2 separate regions of the Homo sapiens genome follow, and region 2 is linked to region 1. Evidence: promoter capture Hi-C in 16 types of primary human blood cells and fetal thymus (Javierre and others, 2016). All regions are on one chromosome and are shown on one strand. The core of a region is centred on a gene start or on the middle of the fragment in contact, and the rest is flanking DNA. Distances in the headings are between cores, read along the strand shown. Region 1 holds the start of SPINDOC (spindlin interactor and repressor of chromatin binding). Region 2 holds the start of MACROD1 (mono-ADP ribosylhydrolase 1).

The links. The method cuts DNA at HindIII sites, captures the fragments that hold promoters and counts their contacts. A CHiCAGO score of 5 or more calls a contact.
Region 2: a contact is called between a fragment that was not itself captured here and the fragment with the promoter of SPINDOC in region 1, in 11 of 17 cell types (total B cells, naive B cells, naive CD4 T cells and 8 more). The highest score is 8.6, in total B cells.

Annotation. Positions count from the first base shown.
Region 1 is chr11:63,810,842-63,815,832 of GRCh38, forward strand. SPINDOC (spindlin interactor and repressor of chromatin binding) reads left to right here and starts at 2,615. Exons shown (of 6, transcript NM_138471.3): 1 at 2,615-2,972. The coding sequence starts at 2,846. RefSeq lists silencers at 696-990, 2,251-2,720. The HindIII fragment of the contact is 4,146 bases long and covers 323-4,468 here.
Region 2 is chr11:64,161,745-64,166,735 of GRCh38, forward strand. It overlaps MACROD1 (mono-ADP ribosylhydrolase 1), which reads right to left and starts at 4,369. Exons shown (of 11, transcript NM_014067.4): 1 at 3,953-4,369. The coding sequence starts at 4,250. It overlaps LOC105369339 (a long non-coding RNA gene), which reads left to right and starts at 4,494. Exons shown (of 3, transcript XR_950187.3): 1 at 4,494-4,845. RefSeq lists an enhancer at 3,888-4,388 and silencers at 3,926-4,025, 4,156-4,235, 4,496-4,755. The HindIII fragment of the contact is 190 bases long and covers 1,789-1,978 here.

The DNA of each region.
Region 1 (4,991 bases), core at 1,365-3,864:
GTTGGGTGACAGAGTGAGACTCCATTTCAAAAAAAAAAAAAAAAAAAAAGGCGAAGTCACTTTGTGGTCATGAAGTGGCTTCATCTATGTCTCATTCTAAACATAGCTTACTTTCTGCTGGTAACAGCACAGTCTGAATGCCAGAAAAGCCATCTTTCACTTTCTTGATAGTCCTAAACTTCAGTCCTAAACTTCACGTTGATGTTGATTATAGAAAGCATCACCATTTGAGGGATATTAAAATGTGGGGGAAATATTCACTCTAGGTTGGATGAAATAAGATTCTTGCTGTATTACCTTGGGCAAGTAATCTAACCCTTTAAGCTTCAACTTCTTGCTCTATAAGCTGAGAATAATATGACCTAAAAGAAATAATGTCTACTAATTGGGTGGTACAATACTGGGTGTATCACTCAAGGTTCAACCAGGAAAATAGGAACCACTTTTTTTTTGAGACAATCTAGCTCTGTCGCCCAGGCTGGAGTCAAGTGCAGCGGCATGATCTTGGCTCACTGCAACCTCCGCCTCCTGGGCTCAAGCAATCTTCCTGACTCAACCTCGTAAGTAGCTGGGATTACAGGCACACACCACCATGCCGGGCTAATTTCTTTTTTCTTTTTTCTTATGGTAGAGACAGGGTTTCACCATGTTGGCCAGGCTGGTCTCGAACTCCTGACCTCAAGTGATCCACCTGCCTTGGCCTCCCAAACTGCTGGGATTACAGTTGGGAGCCACTGCGCCCCGCCAGGAGGGAACCACTTTAAGTATTGAAAACAGAGAGAATGTAATGCAGGGTTTTGGTGACACGATTAACAGGGGTTAACAGGGAGGTCTGGAAAGCCCAGCAGGGGACAGAGAGAGGCAGTACAGAGACTGGCAAAAGCAAGAAGCTGCCTACAACTCCTAACCTGCAGGGACAAAAAGAGGAGGTGGACTGAGTAGAGCCCAGGGGCATGGATCATCCTACAGATGTTGGGACCACAGCTACCTATCCATGAGCTGGAGCCACAGAGAGGCCTCATCTGCTGCTGGAGATGTCACCTGAGCCTGAGCAAGAGAGAGAAAGAGAAGAAATACCATGGCTCTTTCTTTCCTCCTGCCTTCTCTTCTCCTGCCACTGCCTCCCATTGGCTAAACCGAGGCCTGAAGCCAGATGCTCTGGGAGCCTGAGAAACTGCCCCCCGCAAGACTCAGCCCACTGCAATACAGAGCAGAGCAGAGGGGCACGGAAGGGATCTGTAGCAAATGGTAGAGAATGACCATTCAGCAGAAATAGTTAAACAGGCTTGGTAATACCTTTGTTGTAAAACCTTTAAAATATCAGATACACTTGCACATAACAAAATAATTCCCTTAAAAATAGACTGCAAGGCCAGGCGCGGTGGCTCACGCCTGTAATCCCACTTTGGGAGGCCGAGGCAGACGGATGATGAGGTCAAGAGATCAAGACCATCCTGGCCAACATGCTGAAACCCCGTCTCTACTAAAAATACAAAAATTAGCCGGGCATGGTGGCACGTGCCTGTAGTCCCAGCTACCCAGGAGGCTGAGGCGGGAGAATAGCTTGAACCTGGGAGGCGGAGGTTGTGGTGAGCCGAGATAGCGCCACTGCACTCCAGCCTGGTGACAGAGCGAGACTCTGTCTCAAAAAAAAAAAAATTAAAAAATTGACTGCAATCCATATAGACTAGTTCACACCTCTTCTCACACCCCCATCCTACTACGCGATTCTGAATACTACTGTGTCTGGTCTGATATAACGACATTCGAAGATGGATTTTCAGTGTCAGACATTTTGCATTTTCTGAGCTGAAATCTCATGAGGGTTGCTATAGAAGAGGGAGATGCACATTCCATGTCACAGAAGTAAAAGCTCACCCAGAGTGTGGTTATAGGGCAGCAATGTCATGGCAACTGGACTCTGGTCTTGGGGCTCTCAAGGGATTGCTGTGTGTCCTTGGAGAGGGTCACAAAATCTCCGGACTCCCGTGCCAAAAATGGAAATCATACCCATCAGGGTGGTTTATGTCCGCTCACAGTCCACTCTGCTTCTCTTCTTTGCCTTCCCAGAAGGGTCCAAAATGGTTTTTGAAAGAAACGATGAGCCGGACTAAGAAAACAGATAATGTGCCCACGGCCACGGAGCTGGCAGATGAGAAGGAATTCGGTCTCTGCGTTTCCATACCAAGGCCCTTTCCACTCACCCACCGCTTCTCTTCCTGCCCGGGGCATCTGCTGGCGGAGGAAGGCTTGTCCACGGAAAGGCAAAAGCGACTCCCGATCAAAATCCGGGGGCACCTGGTAGCGCTCTCCACGCCAGCAGAAACGCCCAACTGACTTCTTAATGGAGGGAAACCCCGGGCTTGGCCCGCAGACTGAGGGGCCCGCGTTGCGGGTTTTGGGGGCCCCTCTGCCTCTGCGCACCGGGTGGCCCCGGGTCCCCTCGGCCCTTCCCGCCGCCTCCCGGGTCCAGGGTTTCTAACGGGGCCGCGTGCCCGGGGCGGGGCCACGCGCGATTGGCCGCGCGGCATCGGGGGCGGGTCCGCGGCTGGCCGGCCGGGCGGGCGCCGACAATGAGCCTCCATAAAAGGGAGCGGCGGGGGGCAGGGGCCCCGGATTGAGCCCTCCCCGCCCGGGCTCCCGACGCGCCGAGGTCTCGGGGAGGCCCGGACGCGCCGGTCGCAGGCCCGGCCGGCGAGCGGCGGGCGGGCGGCGGGGAGGGGGCTGCGCGGGGCGGGCGGCGGGCCCGGCGCTATTCCGGCCAGGAGGCGGGAGGCGGTTGCCGGCTGCGCGCCGAAGCCTGCGCGCCAGTCCTCCGGCCACTGCTATCGCCCACGGCCGCACCATGGCCCTAAAGGCCGAGGGCGCCGCACTCGACTGCTTCGAGGTGACGCTGAAATGCGAGGAAGGGGAGGACGAGGAGGAGGCCATGGTGGTGGCCGTAATTCCGCGGCCCGAGCCGATGCTCAGAGGTGAGGATGGAGGGGATTCCACTTCCGCGTCACGGTGCGGGGCCGGGGCTGGGGCCGTCCCTCCCCAGTCGGGGTCCGGGACCCGGGCACCTTCTCACCCCCTTCAGCCTTGGGGCCCAGGTTTCCCTCTCGGATCTGGGTCCAGGGCGCGCTCTTGCACCTCCCCCACCATGGTTTAGAAGCTCAGGCCTCCTCGATTTCCCCCTCCCTTCCCCTTTCCCCCGCCCAGGGTCTGGAGACTTCGATCCACGCCCCGCACGCTCCGGATCTTCCGGTGCCCAAGCGCCCCCTCTCCCGGGCCCAGCACCAGAGGCCGGATCCCCAGAGGCGCTGGGTGGTTGCGGCCGCCGTCTCACAGCCTGGGAAGGGGAGGCAAGCACAACGGCCGGGCTGTGTTCTAGTCCGAGGGGCGGCGAAGCCTCTAGGCCGGAGGCTACAGGCGGGCGCCGCTGCCGACCTCCAGGAGAATTTTAAGGGCTCTCCGAGCATAACGCTTCCCTGCCCACCACCCCGCTTCATTCCCATTCCCGGGCCTTCCACTTGCAGGAGCCACAGGTGTCAAGTTCTGGAGAGAAGGGATGAATGGGACTGCATACAACAGCTAGTTTGGAAAAGCAGTGCAGTGCTAGAACGAGATTAGCTTTGGGAGGGGATGGGAGGAACAATCTCAGAACACTCGCTCTCCCCTCCCCCTTCACCGATTTCTAGTCCTCAGGAGCTTGCAAACCGTAAGAAAACAAAGAGCCATCTTTGTGGGAGACTTAATATGCATGAAAATGCAAATATATTTCCATTCTCCCACCCCGCTTTTCTTAGGCGGGATAGTACCCAAAAGAGGTTGAGAGCAGCAATGCCATTCATTGAACTTCAGCCGAACAGAATGATGTCTGCCTGCACTGCCTGTCATCCTTTTTGGAACTGGAAGGGTTATAAAATTCATGAGGGAAATAAAGGTCACCTCCCTTCTCGGAGCATTTAGTCCAAAAGATAGGTTGTTTTCCTACTTCTGCTAATATTTGTTGAGTGTTCATTGGGCATTGTCAGAGGCTGTCTCAGTTAATCCTCTCAACCCTGCAAGGGTGGCCTTATCCCCACTGTTAGGGCAGGAATAGACAGGTGAATTCATTCAACCAATATTCACTGGACGTCTACTTTAGGCTGTTTAGGCTAGTGTTTTTAGGCTGGGAAGTAGTAGTAAACAGAGCAACCGAAACCCTGCTCTTGAAGAACATATATATACCAATGGCTAAAGACAGAGAAATAGGTTCATGTATAGTATGTTGGGTGGCAATAAATGGTTCAGAGATCACTAAAGCAGGAAAAGGAGAAAGAGGAGGAATGGGTATTTAATTGAATATATCGAGTGGTTCAGAAAGGGTTTTCTAATAAGGTGAATTTTGAGCACAGACCCGAAGGAAGTGAGGATGCCAACCTTGCAGATATCTGCAGGAAGAGCATTTCAGGCCGAATAGCAAGTGCAAAGGTCCGGCAGCACAAGCTTCTGGAAAGATTTCGGTGGAGAGAGGAAGAAAGATTGAATTCAAGGTTTTTGGCCTGAGCAACTGGAGGAAGAGCCTTCCCATTTTCCGAGATGGGGAAGGCTGCGGTGCTCTTGGGAGACTGGGAGTGAAAGTTTGAATATGATTACGTTTGAGATGCCTATTTATGACATATTCAGGTGGAGAGGTCAACTAAGCAGTCAGATACATGGGCCTAGATTTCCTGGAAGTATCTAGCTAGTGGCGTAAACAGAAATTGCCAGCAGGCAGACAGTGGGAAGAGAAGGAAGTAGAGAAGTGTCTAAGGACTGAGTCCTGGGAAACTCCAGTGATGGCAGGTTGGAGACCGAGTCAGTCCCTCATCACACATTACTAAATGCCACTGCATGCGAGGAGATACAGATACAGATGCTGGAGATACAGATGCAAAACATCAGAAATCTGTATGGTCATGGATTTTTTTTTTTTTTTTGAGACGGAGTTTTGCTCTTTTTGCCCAAGCTGTAGTGCAATGGCACAA
Region 2 (4,991 bases), core at 634-3,133, 350 kb after region 1:
GTAACATGGTGAAACCCAGTCTCTACAATAAAGGTTTTAAAACATTAGCAGCCCATGGCTCACACCTGTAACCTCAGCACTTTGGGAGGCCGAGGTGGGTAGATCGCTTGAGCTTAGGAGTTTGAGACCAGCCTGGGCAACATGGTGAAACCCAGTCTCTACAATAAAGGTTTTAAAACATTAGCAGCCCATGGCTCACACCTGTAACCTCAGCACTTTGGGAGGCCGAGGTGGGTAGATCGCTTGAGCTTAGGAGTTTGAGACCAGCCTGGGCAACATGGTGAAACCCAGTCTCTACAATAAAGGTTTTAAAACATTAGCAGCCCATGGCTCACACCTGTAACCTCAGCACTTTGGGAGGCCGAGGTGGGTAGATCGCTTGAGCTTAGGAGTTTGAGAACAGCCTGGGCAACATGTCAAAATTCTGTCTCTACAAAAAAATACAAAAAATTAGCTAGGCGTGGTGGCGTATGCCTGTAGTTCCAGCTACTTGGGAGACTGAGGTGGGAGGATCGCTTGAGCCCAGGAGGTTGAGGAAGCAGTGAGCTGAGATCTCACAACTGCACTCCAGCGTGGGCAACAGACCTTGTCTCAAAAGAAAAAAAAAAATTAGTTGCACATGGTGATGCGCGCCTGTACTTCCAACTACTCAGGTGGCTGAGGCAGGAGGATCGCTGAGCCCAGCAGTTTAAGGGTGCAGCTAGCTATGATTACACCACTGCACTTCAGCCTGAGCAACTGAGCGAGACCCTGTCTCGAAAAAAATTTAAATTAATTTTAAAAATTTTGGCCGGCCACAGTGGCTCACGACTGTAATCCCAGCACTTTGGGAGGCTGAGGCGGGCAGATCACGAGGTCAGGAGATTGAGACCATCCTGGCTAACACAGTGAAACCCTGTCTCTACTAAAGAATACAAAAAATTATCTGGGCATGGTGACGGGCACCTGTAATCCCAGCTATTCGGGAGGCTGAGGCAGGAGAATGGCATGAACCCAGGAGGAGGAGCTTGCAATGAACCAAGGTCGCGCCACTGCACTCCAGCCTGGGTGACAGAGCAAGACTCCATCTCAAAAAAAAAAAATTTAAGAAAATTGGCCAGGCCCAGTGACTCACGCCTGTAACCCCAGCACTCCGGGAGGCCGAGACGGGCAGATCACGAGGTCCGGAGATCAAGACCATCCTGACTAACACGATGAAATCCTATCTCCACCAAAAACACAAAAAAATTAGCCGGGCGTGATGGCACGCGTCTGTAATCCCAGCTACTGGGGAGGCTGAGGCAGGAAAATCACTTGAACCCCGGAGGCGGAGGTTGCAGTGAGCTGAGATCACACCACTGCACTCCAGCCTGGGCAACAGAATAAGTCTTCATCTAAAAAACAAACAAACAAACAAACAAACAAACAAAAATTAGCCGGGTATAGTGGTGGGTGCCTGTAATCCCAGCTACTCAGGAGGCTGAGGCAGGAGAATCACTTGAACCCGGGAAGCAGAGGTTGCAGTGACATCACACCACTGCACTCCAGCCTGGACAAAAAGAGTGAAACTGTCTCAAAAAAAAATTTTTTTAAGAAAATAAAAACACACCTTCAAATTCTTTGAGATTCTTTCTTTCAAGAGGTAGAGCCTAATTTCCCTCTCCTGGAGTATGGCCAGACTCCCTGACTCGATTCTGACCCCTAGAATAAAGCAGGAGAGACTTCGAAGACGAGGTCACAAAGAAGGCACTGCAGCTCCATCGGGGTCTCCTCACGATCCCTCTCGTGGAGCATATGCTCTGGGGGAAAAGCTTAGGACATCTATCCCATGTGAGGCACTCAAGCAGCCCCATGGAGAGGCCCCAAAGTGACCAACCGAGGCCTCTCACCAAATGCCATTTTATGGGAGGGAGCTGTTTAGGAAGCCCATCCTCCAGCCCTAACCAAGTCCCACCCGGCCTCAGAGGGAGGGAGACCCTGAGCTAGAACCACCCAGCTAAGCTTCTCTCAGTTTCCTGACCCTCAAGAGATGGAGAGAATGCAGGTTTGCTGTTTTACGCCACTAAGGTTCGGGGTGTTTTGTTACACAGAAATAGATAACTATTGGGGGATCTCCACATCTCACCCCCGAAAGCGTCCCTCTAACTGTGGCTTCAGTAGCAGGCAGAGCCCCAGACCAGCCCCACTCCTTGGGCCTGGCCCACTGTCACTCAATAACGGGTCTGGAATATCATTACCCAGCTGGATGCCTCTTCTCAGGCCACCACCCCTGAGACGCCTCCTCTGATCTCCCCAGCTCAGGTGGCCCCATCTGCTATGGTGTCTTCACAGCACTGAGGTTACCGGGCCTTGTCTCAGCTGCTAGAACACATTCTTTACAATAGATGCTTTGTAATCCTCACACCAGATTACAAGCTCCATGAGGGCAGGGCCCTTGCCTATCTGACACATGTCTGAGTCCCCAGCCTGACCACCTAGGGGGCGTTCAATAAAAGTTTGCTGCATGATTGGAAATCCCACCTCGAAGCAAAAGGGAGACCCCAGTGACAACACAGCAGCCCAGGAACCCCAGCCCCATCACAAGGTCCGGTTGCTTTCCTGGCACCAAGGAGTGGGGCTGTGGGGGCTGGATCCTAAAAACAGCGGCAGCCCTCGAGCAGGTGCCTGGGCACCTTGTCTCCGTAGCTCTTTCCCACCCTCCTGGGTTGTTGTCCTCTGAGAGAGTGCTCAGGGGAGCAGGGGTCTCTGTGGGGACAGTGGCTCCCCCTCCAGGGGTCTCTGCCAGCCCCAAACTCCTCCTGCTGTTCTGGGGCAAGGGCCAAGTGCCTGACAAGTTCTCCATCTGCTCACGGGCTAAAGTCGGTGCTTTCTGCCGTCACTTTTAGATCCTGGCGCAGGCCACACAATTCATGTCAGGAGTAAATCATTTTGATTTCCACCTCTGGTCCCGAGAAAGCCATCTTCTCTTCACCCCTAACACCGCAGGACCCCCCCATCCTGCCTGCCCAGCCCAGAGGCCACACCTACTCCACCACGGAGGCCCAGCCAATTAGCCACTTCCCTGCACTTTTGAAAGGGGATCCAGCCGGGAAGAGTCACAGGATCCCAGGAGGCAGGCCCTGAAAGGCAGGGGCAGCTGGGTGCCCGGCAGGGCTATTTGGGGCTCAGTAGCGGCAGCTTGGGTTCTCTCTCTCCCCAGGCCCCAGACTCATGCCCCCTCCAGGAGCAAGAGGAAGTGGTGTGATTCTTGAAGGGTGTCATCAGTTGTCACAGGGACAAGACCCCACCTCTGCCCTGCTCCTCTAACCTCTGTTCCTGGCATGAGCAAACTGCTCACAAGTGGCCAGAGGCCAGCGAGAAGGGGAAAAGGGCGCCAGACCACGTGCCCAGGAAGGCATCAGAGTGCGGGCTTGGGGTGGGGTGGAGGCAGGACAGGCCAGCCCAGGAAGGTCACTCTGTGAGGTTACGTGCCCCACCAGGTGGGACGCCAGCCCCGGAGCTGTTCCCTCAGCCCCATTCCCGAACACTTAAGAACCACACTGTGCAAAGTTTGGAGAGTCCGGGATCATAACCTCCACTTTGCCACCAGCTCCGAGTGACCTTGGGGAAGCCAGCTGTGGCACTCGGCCTCAGTTTCCCTCCTGCACAGGGAAGGAAGTTGGTAGGTCCTGCACAATCTCTGGGGTGCCCTGTGACCCATTCCAATGGGGTAAGGAAGGCCGCCTTCCTCACGCTGCCCCCTGCGTGGACACTTGGACCTGGTCTGGAGTGAATTGTTCTGTGGGGCTGGGAACACGCGCGGGGGCGGGGGGGGCTGTCAATGGGGAGGAGGGGTCCGTTCCAGGGCAGATGGGGCCTCAACTTCCCCAGGTCTCTCGGGTGGAAGGGGCTGCTCGCTCGTTGGGGGCCGCCCAGCCGGGAAGCTCCACGTGAGGCCGCCCTCTCCCTCGCGCCCCCTCGTGCTTACACTTACATTTCGCCTCCTTCCAGTCGGTGGAGGTGCTCAGGTCCACCTTCGCCGCCATGGCCAGGGGGGCCCAAGTGCGCACCCCGGCTGTCCGCCCCACCGCCGCCGCCCCCCACGCCCCAACTCCCGCCGAGGTCCGCGCACGGCGGCCGAACACGCCCAGGAACGCCGGGGGACCGCACGTGCTGCTGCGGGTCCTCGTGGCACCCGCCAAGTGTCCGGGCCGGGGGCGCGGGGGGACGAGCAGCTGCCCCGCCGCGCGCAGCTGTGCCAGGCGGCCGGACAGTCGGCTCTGTAGAGACATGAGCGGGCGGCGCGGGACGGCTCTCCGCCCACTTGGACTCTATTTACGGCGCTCGGGAGTGTCTCTCCCTTATTTACTCTGGGACCGGGTGGCGACTGCCAGCCAGCGGCGACCTGCTCGGAGCCAGCGGGAGGCGCGGCCAGAAAACCCGGGAGCGCCGCTGGGCACCCTGGAACTTGTAGTCCGGGCCGCCGGATGGGCCCACGCACTCGTATACACACGTGCGCGCCCGCCCGGGCTCCCAGTGTCGCGGATGGAGCCCCGCCTGAGCCCTTCGACTTCTCCCGTGGCCGCCAGGCGCCTCCCCTCCGCGAGACCTCGGCCGCCTCTAACTTTCTGGTTGGCTGAGCGTCGGCTTCCCCGGCACGGGCTGAAGCCCCCGGGCCTTCCACGCAGCCCCGGGCCCCTCTGCCGCTCGGCCCCGCGGCGGAGCAGGCGCGCCGGCCGCTGCGTATCGAGCTGGGAGAGCCTGGCGCGGCTTCCGCAGTGCCGAGCGTTTTGCAGCCTGGGAGACCCGGGCTTCTCTCCCCGCGGGTCAGCAGGGCACCGCCTCCACACCCCAGCCTGCCCTCCTAGGGACAGGTGCGACGAACGGGTAAATCCGGTTTGGGGACTTCTCCCCAGAGCCTCTGCCTTCTAACAGCCCCGGGGCCAAGGCTCAGCTGGAGCAGAATCTAGGACAGCTGGGGAGGAGAGTCGAGGGTGGAAATAGTGGAATTTGGAGGCAGGAAACTTAGGCTT